3 separate regions of the Homo sapiens genome follow, and all the other regions are linked to region 1. The links are contacts of gene promoters, found by promoter capture Hi-C in human tissues and cell types (Jung and others, 2019). All regions are on one chromosome and are shown on one strand. Each heading gives the region's core, a stretch centred on a gene start or on the middle of the fragment in contact. The rest is flanking DNA. Distances are from core to core; before and after follow the strand shown. Region 1 holds the start of GLMN (glomulin, FKBP associated protein). Region 2 overlaps TGFBR3 (transforming growth factor beta receptor 3). Region 3 overlaps EVI5 (ecotropic viral integration site 5).

Region 1 (4,524 bases), core at 1,507-4,006:
TTATTTTTAAATGCATGAATTATATGGATTGTTATCTGCATCTAATGACTCAGAACAAATTCAAAGATTCTAATAATGCAAAGAAGTTTCATGCTGCACAGATTTAAAGATGTTATACTACAAAACTAATAATTTGTCAACTTAACACATACACACTCCATTAGGAACTCTTCTGTAATATTCTCCTCTAAAAGCTGTTCAACAATATGTAGAGCTTTTCTCTCAAATTCAATCTTCTTTCTCACAGCTGCTTCTAGTTCAGCTTTCCTAAAATTTGAAAGAGAAACTTAATCTACTTAAAAGCTTCATGTCCAACATTCCATGTTTTAAAATACAATACTAACCTAACTCACTATTTTGCCACTTAAATTTAAATATATTTAAAAAATTTTTTGAATAAAAATATTTATTTCTTTTTAATTGTAGAGACAAGGTCTCACTATGTTGCTCAAACTGGTCTCGAGCTCCTGGCCTCAAGCAACACTCCCACCTCAGCCTCCCAAAGTGCTGGGATCACCGGCATAAGCCACCACATCCGGCCAAATTTCTGTTTTCTAATGCTGTTACTTTTGATCCAATACTTTTCAAAAAGGAAACAAGCTACTTTTTGCACTGCACATACATAAGTCTTTATATACTCTTTGTATGGTTAATGTCTACTTAGCACGCAGGTCTCAGCATAAGGCTTTCGCTGAAAACTCACAGCCAACCTCCCTGCCACCCACCTCCAACTAAATTAGACTTCGTTATTCCTTCTCGTAACATCACAGTCTTTTCCTTCATAGTGCTTATCACAATTTGTAATTATGTATTTGTTTATGTTAATTAACTAATTAATTTATTATTATTTATTCCTCTGTTCCACTAGGCAAGAACTGTGTCTATTCTGTTCACCATATCTTCAGAGCCTAACACAGGTCCGACATATCTTATACTCAATAAATAATTTTTGAAAGAATGAGTAAATTAAGACCAAAGCCAATATAAGATTAGTGAGTCTTCACAAAATAAAAATCATAGCTACATATGCTTTTAATCCCCTTCACATTCTACTCCTCTTCTAGAAACTCTGTGTGATATGTGGTAATATCTTGCCTTTTTAGAACCAGAACTAGTACAAGACAGCTTTTTAATGAAAATCTGGACTTGATGTAACAAAGAACAGAAAAGGTTTCTTGGAGTGACAGCGAAACTTGGAGAGTGAGTCTCTGGCATATAAAGCAATAAAAGGAGAGTGTACCTGAAGCGGTGAAAAACAAACACCTTCTACAGACACTCATTCCTTCACTAGCAGTCTGAGTGCTTAGTTTGGTTTTCTTAAAGCCTGGAGTAGAGGAATGTAACAGTCTATGTGAGAATTTATAGGCCTTCCCAGATCTTTCCCTTCCCTCTCATGATAATTTTCTCTAAAAAAAAAAAGGTAACCATTATTGTTTTAAAATTGGTACAAGTAATACAAGATAAGTAGATATGCCAATGTAGTTGTCCATGTAGCTGTCATACCTTTTAGAAGCATCTTCTTGTTTCAAAGTACTTGTCTGTTTAGTACCTACAATAAAAATACAGTCATGTGCTACATAATGACATTTCCGTAAACGACGGACAGCATACAGACAGCGGTCTCATAAGATTAAAATACTGTATTTTTACTGTACCTTTTCTATGTTTAGATATACAGTTGCCTACAGTACTTAGTACAGTAACATGCTGTGCAGGTTTGTAGCCTGGGAGCAATAGGCTGTACCATATAGCCTAGTGTGTAAGTAGGCTGTACCATCTAGGTTTGTGTAAGTGCACTCGATGATGGTCACACAAGGATGAAATCGACTAACAACTTATTTCTCAAAATGCATCCCCGCAGTTAAGCTACACATGGTGGCAGTAGGTCAGGTCTACACAAACACATTAGGTACAAGATAGATTCCTACACAAATAACAAACTGTAGACCACCTTTTCTTCTTTTCCACATATTTTATGTCCAATCGTGTGTAAATCAAAATGAAATAGGAAGGGAGAGCAATTTGTTTTTGCAAATTGATTACTGTCTAATTTTTCTTGGTTAAAATGTATCTCTTTGGGGATTGAATTTTCTTCTGTATCATAGTTGCTTAATTAACCACTCCTGAAAATCTGAGATCTGGGTACTTTTAGGGGAAACCTCTCTCCGTCTGCCAAACGTCCTCTCTGGGGGAAGAGGGGAGTCCGGCACCTTAAAGAACTGGGCACCCAAGCAATCTGGAAAGGAGGACCGGTCCTAGGTTCAAGGCCAGCTGCCAACGCTGCCCTAGTCACTTGCCCCGAAACCCGGGGACCCCAGGCCTGGGTTCCCGGGGCCTCCACTGTCCTTTGTCTCAGAGGCTGGGGCCACAGTCCGCGTGAGGGAAATCTTGGAACACTGGCGTAAAGGGGTGAGGGGCGGCCAGGAAATCTTTCCCAGGAGGTGCGGACGGCGGTGGGAAGCTTTCGGCCTACTCTACCTGGGAGAACCCCTCCCCTGAAGCAGCCTTTCAGGAGCGCCCGCGCGCTGCGGTCTATAACTCGAGATCGGGGCCCAGCTTTCAGGGTCCAAAAGTGGGAAGAGATCCTTGCTCCTACCTGCGGCTTTTCGAGAGCAGCGGGGAGCCCCGGCCTTGCGGCCGGCAGAAGACGGCCCAGCGAAGTCCGCCATGGGGGAGAGTAGTCTGCCGGACGGGGACACGCTCCGGCGTCTCGCCCCGAGGCCCCGCCTCCCTACGCGTAGCGCGGGGCGGGGCCAGAAGAGCGGGCTAAGACGCCGGAGGAGGTGGCGGCGGCTGGGAGAGGCGAGGGTTCTGGCCGGTAAGTGGAGTTGTGGAGAGGTTCAGGGTGGCCAGGGCTCGCGGTTGGCCGTGAGCCGCGGCGGACTTGGTGCTGCGGGCCGACTAGGCCACGCGAGGTGGTGGAGCCTGCCCACCTAGGCGAGCAGGAATCGGAAGACATGGCTTCCTCTGATGCAGCCCGCACGCGCGCTGGGGTGTTCACTCGCCTTCCAGCGCGCTGCCCTGAGGACCGGGCTGACTCGCGCCCCTACTGAGGGCTTGGGGCCGAGCCTTGCCGCCAGGAGAAGCGATGGTCTCCTCCTGAAGGCCGCCGTTGTCTTGTCTCCGTGTGATACAGTGATTTCACTAGCTGGATTGATCACTTTGGGGACTGCAACTCCTAGAGAGAAATGGAATGGAGGGCATCTGAATCTTCACCCCCTATAGATAAGCTTGTGTTGCACCCCAATTTTTGTGAGGTGAGACATTAAAAATGAAAAATCCCCTGATGATTAGAATTTTGATTTCAGGTCCACCTTTTGGAAATTTTTTTTCAGAAAAGAAGTGCTTTGCTTTTTAAAAGCCCTTTAGTTCGTATATGCCTCGCCTCTTGGGAGTGCTCGAGAGGTTTTTTTTGTTTTTTTTTCCTTCAAAGTAGCTTTCAAAACTATGCTCCTAGAAAACTTAAAACATGCAATAAGGGCTTCTAAAAAAACACTTTATTTTCTTAGGCAAACATACTAAGATTCAGTAATAACATTTCAACTTTAAAACTTTACATTTTCTCCTAGCATGCTATTGGACCAAAAAACACAACAACAAAAACTTTCCATTTTCTTTATTGTATTTACTAATAATTTATCACACTGAAACATAACTTTTGAATACTTAAGTGTAATATCACGGATAGTTAACAGTGTGTTTTGTATTTGTAGATTTTAGCATCGAAACTAGGAGAAATAAGAATGGCTGTAGAGGAACTTCAGTCTATAATAAAGAGATGTGTAAGTATTAATTTTTGTAAAATTAAATACCTTTCAAAATATGGGAAGGGCACAGATTGTTTTTAATTATATTTGTGGTCACTCAAATTGTTTATCTTCTTTAATCCTTGCTTTTTTTGACCTGTAAAGAGCATGAGTGGGGGAGGCAGATTGGATTATTTCTCCAGGTGACATACTTATCTAAATAACCTTTTACATTTTAATCCTGATCCTTTTCATAGATTTCACTGGTACAGTAGATTTCAAGGTCACTTATTAAAGTATTTATTAGGGTAATCCTAATTTTGATACGTGTGTTATTTACGTTACATTTATCTAGAATTTAAACAGATTTCCTTTTTTCATAGATAAATCAAGAAGTTATTGTATTTAATTTTTATTTGCATATACTTTTTTTTGTTTGTTTTTTGGGTTTTTTTTTTTTTTGCCAGCAAATCCTAGAAGAGCAAGACTTTAAAGAAGAGGATTTTGGCCTATTTCAGTTAGCTGGGCAAAGATGCATAGAAGAAGGGCACACAGACCAGCTATTAGAAATTATTCAAAATGAAAAGAATAAGGTGCGTACAATCTTGGTGTTTACTTTTCAGTCTTGGGAAGAGAATAATCACATGATGCTATTCATCCAGTCATTTATCCATCAAACATTTAAGAATCTACTTAAATTTTCACAGTAGGGAACTGAAAACAAAAAAAGAATTAGAAATATTTAGGCCAGGCGCAGTGGCTCACGTTCGTAATCACA
Region 2 (4,524 bases), core at 1,229-3,728, 490 kb after region 1:
GGCAGATTTTCCTTAAAACTGACTAAAGACACTTACTTTTTTGAAACAAGAAAAGACTTAGTTATTTGGATAATTTGCTTATGTGGAATATCTCATTGCCAGTCAATGTTGAATAAGTGAGGCATTTATTGTGTGGCGGAAAGGTGGTTCTTTGGGCCAGATGAAGTAAGGTGGGAAGAAAGGAATATGAAATACTGAGAGAAGGAATTACTACTTTAAATAATAGATGTAGCTTTGGTATGTTTTTCTGTGCAAATCTTGAGACAAAGCCCTTTTTGTTGGAGGAAATGGCATGCAAGGGATTTTATTTTCAGTTTGACCATTTGCAAGTATTAGAGCTGTCTCCATGGGAGAAAGGTGAGTTCCCTCTGGCAGTGTGGTTTACGAAGGTTTGCTTGGGAGGAAAAGAGAGGAGCTAGTTGATCCAGAGTGGAAAAACACCAAAGCAAAGTTTTCTCCAAAATAACACACACGGATTTCTGAAAAACAGCAGTTACTTTCACTGAATGTGACAAACTTCAAAAAAAAAAAAAAAGGGAAATCAGCTTTGAAACATCATATGACACATCTGTTTTGGAAGGTTGCTTTGTCAGATACAGATGTATGTTTTACAGTATGTTACTATGTAAAGTTTCGTCTTGAGCAAGCTCAATAGATGTTTTTCTGAACAGGTATCTCATTTATCCCAGTTTTAAATTTTTGGGGGAGAGTTTATTAAACAATAATAGTACAGTACTTTATCTTATTTTTAGGTTAAATACAATTTGATTGAATTATACCCTTCTCTCTTAGCCTTTTATTGAACTGATATCTCTGCTTAGATTTTATCCTTTCAGAAATTGCTTATTGACCCGACACAGCAAAATCCAAACTTTTTGATATATGTCATGGCATATATCATGCCAAGATCACAAACTCCATCACATGCTTTTAGCAAATAAATGCCAGTTTGCTTCTTGCTTTCATACCTACAATAATGCAAATTATTGGTTTAAAAAGTTAAAAATCACTGATTCTTGCTTTATTACAGGCCTCTTAAATTGAGACCTTGGAAAAGTATTTTCTTGCAAGAGCTGATGTTTCCTATTATTATTATTATTAATTTATTTTTTAAGACAAGGTCTCACTGTGTCACCCAGACTGGAGTGCAGTGGCACTATCTTGGCTCATTGCAGTCTTGACCTCCCTGGGCTCAAGGGATTCTCCCACCTCAGCCTCCTGAGTAGATGGGACTACAGGTGTGCACCACCATGCCTGGCTAATTTTTTAATCTTTTGTAGAGATGAGGTCTCACTCTCTTGCCCAGGCTGGTCTCAAACTTATGGGCTCAAACAATCCTCCCACCCTGGCCTCCCAAAGTGCTGGGATTACAGGTGTGAGCCACTGCACCTGCCTGTGATTTGTTTCCTTTTTATGATATCTATGTGAGCATCATATTTTCTTTTCATCCTGCCTGCTAGAAAGCGCAGAGCTAGGTTTGGCACTCAAATGATGTAGTTTCCTTTAGCTAAGTGCTTTGATGAAGTTTCTCTTTTGCATTTTTTTTTCCAGAACACATCTCATAGTTGAAGAGATGGTAATAATTACAGTAATACAATAATAAAAATGAGTTGATCCTAAGAACAGTCTTATGGGGCAGATCCTGTTATTATCCCCATTGTATAGATAAAGAAACAGAGGCAGGGAATGGCTAAGTAGCTGCCCCAGGTTAAAAGGCTAAAATGTGGCAGCGCTGGGATTAAACGTAGGAGACTGGCTCCATAGTCCTTAGAGAATTAGCAGCTTGGGAGTTTGGTTGTTTGGCACATGAATTCATCACTCAACAAATGTTTATGAACACGTGCCGCATGCCAGGCACTGTGTCAAGCACTGGGAGAGAGGAAGTAAAAGAAACACAGTCCTTGCCCTCATGGAGTTTCTGGTAAGTAGAGGACACACAAACATATGCCCAAATAAATGAAGCAATAGATTTATAAAAGCTTATATTTGCTATAAAGGAGTAACAGGTGTAACAGTTTAAGGGACCTCTGAATTTTATCAGGTGCAATACAAAAGTGTAGTTCTGGGCCAGGCACGGTGGCTCATGCCTGTAATCTCAGCACTTTGGGAGGCCAAGGCAGGTGGATTGCTTGAGCTCATGAGTTTGAGACCAGCCTGGGCAACATGACAAAACCCCGTCTCTACAAAAAATATAAGACATGAGCTGGTGTGGTGGCACACACCTGTAGTCTCAGCTATTCGGGAGGCCGAGGTGGGAGGATGGCTTGAGCCTGGAAGGTAGAGGTTGCAGTGAGCCCAGATCGCACCATGGTACTCCAGCCTGGGCAACAAAGCCAGACCTTGTCCCCGTCCACTTACCCCCAAAAAACTGTGGTTCTGAACCACAGCAACTGAGCCGAGCACAATCCTTCTGTCTCTCTAAGACCCAGTCTACACTGAGTAGTTCTGTTGATGGCACTGCTTGATGGGCCTGTAACTGCCACAAGCTCTGGAAAAACCAGGTCCACAGCTTCTCAGAGCCTTTTAGCTTCACTGTGAAAGGAGCAAGAGCACACCAGTGACCAGGTGTTCATAATTTCTCTGCAAATGTCAGCTCTCAGTTTCCCTCCTAACAGAAGCACCTGAAGCAGCAGGCTAGCTAGCCTGAAGAGGAAGGAATAGAGTTTAGTCTTATAATTGGGACCTATATATTAAGCTGAATAATTTGGCATTCAGTGTTAAGCATTTGACTCATTCCTGTAACCAATTGTGAGTGCCCTGATTATGTATAAACTCCTTAAAGTAAATGTGTTTTAGTTCGTGGCCCAGTGTGTACACATGGCTGTAATTAACAATATTTTGCACAGCCAAACCAAAAGTTTGCAGATTTTCCTTTTTTAATCCATGGTCTCCTATCTGCAATCAGGACCAGTGGTTATAGGCGATGATTCAACTCCCCAGCAGTTGTGGTTTCCCCCTTCTGCCCTTCCTGACCCTCTTACAGTTTCTCATCTTGCCACTTGTCTCTGCTTCAGACTCTGCACCCCAGACCCTGGCCACCAGCCCTAACAGAATGCTCACCAGGCCCAGAGCATGCCACATGCAATGCATGTTATTCCTCCGTGCTTTTGCACACATTCTTACCTCTCTTTCTCCCATCTTTTTCTTTCTTGCTAGACACCAGTTTGCAAATGATAAAAAAGAGAAAATTAGTGATCATCTTAGGTACAAATCAAGGTCTGAGAGATGAACAGATTTGGTAATGTCATCCCTCAGGGTTAATGAGGTGTAGCTTTGTAGCTCTGCAAGTCTTACTTTGCCATCAGATATTGCATTAGTAGGAATTAAGTTGTAATTTTTTTATGGGATAAAGTTCAGTTTAATATTTTGAATCTAAGTCGATAAAGCATTTGCATTTTAATAAAGAAGTGTACTATCCTTCAGTTATTTTGTATCTGCCAAATTCATAGGGTAGGAGAAAAAAGATCTTATTTTCTCCCATCCTTCAAACCTTCAGATTTGTTCTTGGTCTCTGTTCTGAGCCAATTAGGCAGTAACATCCCATAAATTCTTATCCCCTCCAAAATGAATGCTGTAGCCAGTGTCTCCTTCTGTTTAAGCTTCCTTCTTGTGAGAAGAATAGGGACAGGTGCACCATATTATTGGTCAAAAGTAAATCAGTGCTCGGTGTGGTGACTCACTTCCAGTACTCTGGGAGGCTGAGGCAGAGGCAGGTGGATCACCTGAGGCCAAGGGTTTGAGACCAGCCTGGCCAACATGGTGAAACCCCATCTCTACTAAAAATACAAAAATTAGCCGGGTGTGGTGGTGCATGCCTGTAATTCCAGCTACTTGGGAGGCTGAGGGAGGAGAATCACTCGAACCCAGGAGGCGGAATTTGCAGTGAGTTGAGATTGCGCCACTGTGCTCCAGCCTGGGCGACAGAGTGAGACTGTGTCTCCAAAAACAAAACAAAACAAAATACCAAACAAAGTAAATCAGAAGAACTGTTGGCCAAGATGATGCCAACTGATTGTCTTTATGGATTGATGGAATTCCCTGGAGGCAGAAACATGGCCTGTTCTCGCCTTTGGGAGTTGTACTTCCAGAATGTGCTCAGAGAACAGGAATTTTTACTCTAATACTGTGCATAGTTTAATTTAATTAAAAAAATTTTTTTAAAGAGATGGGGGTCTGGTTATTTTGCCCAGGCTGGTCTTGAAGTCCTGGCCTCAAGCACTCCTGCTTTGGCCTCCCATAGTGCTGGGATTACAGGCATGATTACAGGGAGTACATGCCCAGCTGTAGTTTTATTTTAAGTCTTTCCAGTGCAATTCATAGAAATAATTTCTGGGGAGTAATGCTAGGGAGTAGTATAAGAACATCTTATCTTAGATATTTTATTAATCATTCTAAAAGTTTTTAGAGAAAACAGTTTTTGATTGGAGAAAATGTTCTCATTCATTTATTTCTCTTCCCCTCAAGGGACTTTATGTCTCTAATAGTATTTGAAGTTTGTAAAGCGTTTTCACATATAGTGCATCA
Region 3 (4,524 bases), core at 1,334-3,833, 370 kb before region 1:
GAGTGGGTTATTTGAAATGAGATTATCCTATTTCAGGATATAAGGTTGTTTTCAGTTTTTCTTATTAAAAATAATGCTAATGGTTAACATCTTTGTATATAACAAGTTTTTTGTCTCCTATTATTATTTCCATAGCCAGTTATAAAAAGTAGAATTAATAAGTTACAAGATATTAGCATTTTAAAGACTTTTGATGTATAATACGTAAATTTCCTAAAGAATGTGTCCAGGGTATGTTTGTCTTAGCAACAAGTTTCCATTTAATGACTACTTTGCCAACACTAAGTATTTCATTCTTGCTCTCACTTTTAGTCTCTTTTTTTTCTAATTTGGTAGGTCAAAAAATTGTCTCTATTTTCTTTTTCAATGTACAAGATAAACATTTGTATGTAGCTATATCTAGGTATCTTCCTCTCTGTGGTTTTCACTTTAAAGTTTAGGAAGCACTCTATTCTAGAAAATGTGAGGAAGATATTGAAGAATTATTGAGAATCAATCAGGTGGTAGATTTTAGTTATTAACCTTTCTATGTATCGTCAATAAACAGTTCAAAAATATACTGGAAGAAGTTCCATTTGAAATAAAAATAAAAGTATATCTAGGAGTAACCTAAATGAAAAATAGAATAGGACCTAACAAACACTGGAAAACTTTACACACAGACATTTTAAAAAGATAACTAAAGATAGACAAAAATAGCTCCATGTTATATAAAGATATGAATTTCCCAGTGATTTTTTTTTTTTTTGAGACAGAGCCTTGCTCCGTTGCCCAGGCCGGAGTGCAGTGGCATGGTCTTGGCTCACTGCAACCTTCACCTCCTGGATTCAAGTGATTCTCCTGCCTCAGCCTCCTAAGTAGCTGGGATTACAGGCATGCGCCACCATGCCAGGCTGATTTTTGTATTTTTAGTAGAGATGGGGTTTTGCCATGTTGGCCTGGCTGGTCTCGAACTTCTGGCCTCAAGTGATCCACCTGCCTTGGCCTCCCAAAGTTCTGGGATTACAGCTGTAAACCATTGTACCTGGCCCTCAAATTCAGTGAAATTTAATTCCTTGTAAAATTCCAGGGCAATAAAAAAATCTTAAGAATAATTCTAAAAATAGACAAAAGTAGTAAAATAATATTCATGCCTAACTTCAAAACTATTGTGGGCAGTGCTTATCATTAACTGAGTATTTGGCATATATTAGGTGCTATGCTATCTCATTTAATTTTTCAGTTCCCTGTAGGTTTGATTACTCTTAATTTCTGGATGAGGAAATGGAGATTCTAAAACATTGAATGTCATGTGCAAGTGTTAATTGTAGAATGAGAATTTGAACTTAAATCTGCCTAACTTCAAAACCTAGTCTCTTAGCTACTTTAGTATACTAGTATTTGGGGTTTGGGAACAATAAACAAATGTAAGAACAGGGGATATTAGCTCTACTAGGTATTAAAACAGATAGCAAAGCTATAATTACCAAAATACTGTGATATTAGTTTTAAAAAAAGAAGACAGTAACACTTGAAACGTAAAAGTAACCCTGAAATGGTCTGTATTAACTGAAAAAGTCTATTGATCAATTCCTGATGTAAATATTATACAAATGAGGAAGTGGTGATTTATTTTTTAAATGGTGTTAAGCATTTGGTTAGTTGTTTGTGGGAGAAAATCAATTTAGATTTTTATTTATAATGAAATAGATTTCAGAAGCCGTAAAAGGGGTTGGGGAAGGAAATCCAGATGAGTGTTTTCAGTTCTAAATTTTATTTTAGCATGATTTCTGTCATAACTTTATTCACTCAGTTGTCTGGTGGGAACTTAGTTTTCTAAATCTTTTAAGATAAAACATTACCTTTTGTTGATGAAATATGATTGAGAACATTTTGAGAATCCCATTTATTTCTTTGGCTCTCTAGACTTTAGCAGCATTTAATAATTGCTTATTTGTGTAGACTACTATGCTGCACACAGTAGGAGGAGCCAAGACATAAGAACATTTTCTACTTCTCAAGCTGTTATTTTGTCTGAGATTAGTTATTAACTTTCCTGTATATCATAATGTCTATTTCAGATCATCTGAATTTTAGTGAATAGAACAAGAAATCTAATTTGCCAAGTATCTTTGTAATAACTCTAAGATTTGTTTCAATTTGTGATCCACTTTAATAAGATGCAGTAATTCATAGAGTCTCTCATTTCCCTGAACTAATACTTTATATGTTATATAAAGCCATATTTAAGTCTTTACTGGCAAAATAATAGGTTGAATTGATGGAAGAATTTTCTGAGACAGACATTTTTTAGCAGAAATTTATAGGAAGGTGGGGCTGGAAGAAGGCCCTTGATTGAGTTCTGGAACAAATTGGTACAAAAAAGTAAGTTATCACCTTGAGGCCGGGCACAGAGGCTTATGCCTGTAATCCCAGCATTTTGGGAGGCTGAGGCGGGCGGATCATGAGGTCAGGAGATCAAGACCATCCTGGCTAACACGGTGAAACCCCCTCTCTACTAAAAATACAAAAAATTAGCTGAGCGTGGTGGCATGTGCCTGTAGGTCCAGCTACTCAGGAGGCTGAGTCAGGAGAATCGCTTGAACCTGGGAGGCAGAGGTTGCAATGAGCTGAGATCGCACCACTGCATTCCAGCCTGGGCGACAGAGTGGGACAACATCTGAGGAATTTGAAAATGAAAAGATAACTTATAAAGGGGATTAATAAGCAATTATACTGGTGGATATGCAAAAATAACTTTTTAAAAATGTAGAGTGACTTGGATTTAATACTTAATGACAGTAATTAGACAAGTTTTTTGGGAACCAGGCATTGAATAATTAGGTAAAGTGCTTTTCAAAAAAATCTGGTTTTACTTTTTGAACTATGAGGAGATACTAGTAATTGGAGTTGTTTTCTCAGAAAAAATTAATAAATTCTTTGTATTTTCAGAATTTTGCAACTTGTCATCTATACTGTATAATAAATGGAGACTATTGAAGTCTAAATGGGCAATTTTTTTTTTTTAAATTTGAGACAAGGTCTTGCTCTGTTGCCCAGGATGGAATGCTGTGATGTGATACTGGCTCACTGCAACCTCCACTTCCAGGGCTGAGGCCGTCTTCCCCCTGAGCCTCCTGAATAGCTGGGACTACAGGCACATGCCACTACGCCCAGCTAATTTTTATATTTTTTGTAGAGACAGGGTTTTGCCATGTTGTCCAGGCTGGTCTTGAACTCAAGCTCAAGTGATCCACCTGCCTGGTCTCCCAAAGTGGATTGCAGGTGTGAGCCACTGAGCCAGGCCCTAAATGGAAAATTTGATGTTTAGCCTATGAACGTGCATTTTTTAGATCTCCTGTTTCTTCATTCAACTGACATTTGAATATTAATTATATAGGTAGGCTCTGTTGGAGGTAGGCAAGTTAGAATCTTTTTTGTCTAATGAGGATGTTAAAACACATAAGAAAATATTTGATTATGAGTCATTATGGTAAGTATGTATAGAAATGGAAGGGCTTATTTCTATATGTACTGTAGAGTGTATTTAAATTTAATCACAGCTGGAATGATGAATGTGAGTATTTCCTTTGCTGTGGTGTATTTATTTCTCTTTCTTTATCCCTTTCCTTTCCCTTCTTTTTCCTTTTCTTTTTCCTCTTTCCTTTCCTTTCTTCTCCCCTTCCCTCCCCTCCCAACCCCTCCCTTCCCCTCCCCTCCCCTCCCTTTTTTGGACACAGGGTTTCACTCTGTCTCCCAGGCCGGAGTACAGTGGTCCAATCTCGGCTCACTACAACTTCCACCACCCCCACCTCAGCCCCCACCTCCCAGCCCCCCACCTCAGCCCCCACCTCCCAGCCTCCCACCTCAGCCTCCCAGGTAGCTGGGACGACAGATTCGCACCACCATTCTGTGTGTGTATGTGTGTGCATGCATGCATGTGTGTGTGTGTGTTTTTCATAGAGACAAGGTTTCACCCTGTTGCCCAGGCTCATCACCACCATTCCTGGCTAAATTGTGTGTGTGTGTAGTTTTCATAGAGACGAGGTTTCGCCATGTTGCCCAGACTCAGGCTCATCTGGAACTTCTGAGCTCAAGCCATCTGCCGGCCTTGGCCTCCCAAAGAGCTGGGATTACAGGCGTGAACCATGGTGCCCTGCCTTCTGTGTATTTCTTACTCTGAGTCTTTGACATTTGATAATGTAATCATTCCTTAGACTCCTTTCTTATTTATAAAAGGTGATACATTTTCAGGACTGTGATTTAGAAATCTTTTTTTTCCTCTCAAAAATGCTTGCAAATAAAACTTTTTTTTTCTTGGCAGAGGTTACGCACAGAAAATAGACTTTTAAAACAGCGCATCGAGACATTAGAAAAAGTAAGTAAGTGACTACTTATGCAAGCTTCTGTTGAATGCCTGGTGTTTTTTCTGTATATTTATTAAAAATCCTCAAAAATTCTGGCACATGTCTCCTATGTTGTAGTATTGACTGCTTAGCTTGCTTACCTTACTATTTATTTAGCCAGATAACTTGTTACTAATAA

What was found. Contacts are between HindIII fragments. The study calls those that stand out against the background at their distance.
Region 2: a fragment that was not itself captured here is called in contact with the fragment with the promoter of GLMN in region 1 in 1 of the 25 tissues and cell types used here (heart right ventricle).
Region 3: a contact is called between a fragment that was not itself captured here and the fragment with the promoter of GLMN in region 1, in 1 of the 25 tissues and cell types used here (heart left ventricle).

Annotation. Positions count from the first base shown.
Region 1 is chr1:92,297,219-92,301,742 of GRCh38, reverse strand. GLMN (glomulin, FKBP associated protein) reads left to right here and starts at 2,756. Exons shown (of 19, transcript NM_053274.3): 1 at 2,756-2,818; 2 at 3,714-3,782; 3 at 4,214-4,339. The coding sequence starts at 3,744. It overlaps RPAP2 (RNA polymerase II associated protein 2), which reads right to left and starts at 2,684. Exons shown (of 13, transcript NM_024813.3): 1 at 2,597-2,684; 2 at 1,504-1,549; 3 at 153-267. The coding sequence starts at 2,669. RefSeq lists enhancers at 2,271-2,500, 2,721-3,190, 2,762-3,658 and a silencer at 2,922-3,259. The HindIII fragment of the contact is 5,439 bases long and covers 1,383-4,524 here.
Region 2 is chr1:91,807,900-91,812,423 of GRCh38, reverse strand. All of the region lies in intron 2 of TGFBR3 (transforming growth factor beta receptor 3), which reads left to right. Among named protein-coding and RNA genes, the nearest start is that of TGFBR3, 76 kb to the left of the region's middle. RefSeq lists an enhancer at 2,763-2,872. The HindIII fragment of the contact is 3,821 bases long and covers 568-4,388 here.
Region 3 is chr1:92,665,772-92,670,295 of GRCh38, reverse strand. It overlaps EVI5 (ecotropic viral integration site 5), which reads left to right. Exons shown (of 20, transcript NM_001350197.2): 11 at 4,304-4,357. Among named protein-coding and RNA genes, the nearest start is that of EVI5, 120 kb to the left of the region's middle. The HindIII fragment of the contact is 7,230 bases long and covers 1-4,524 here.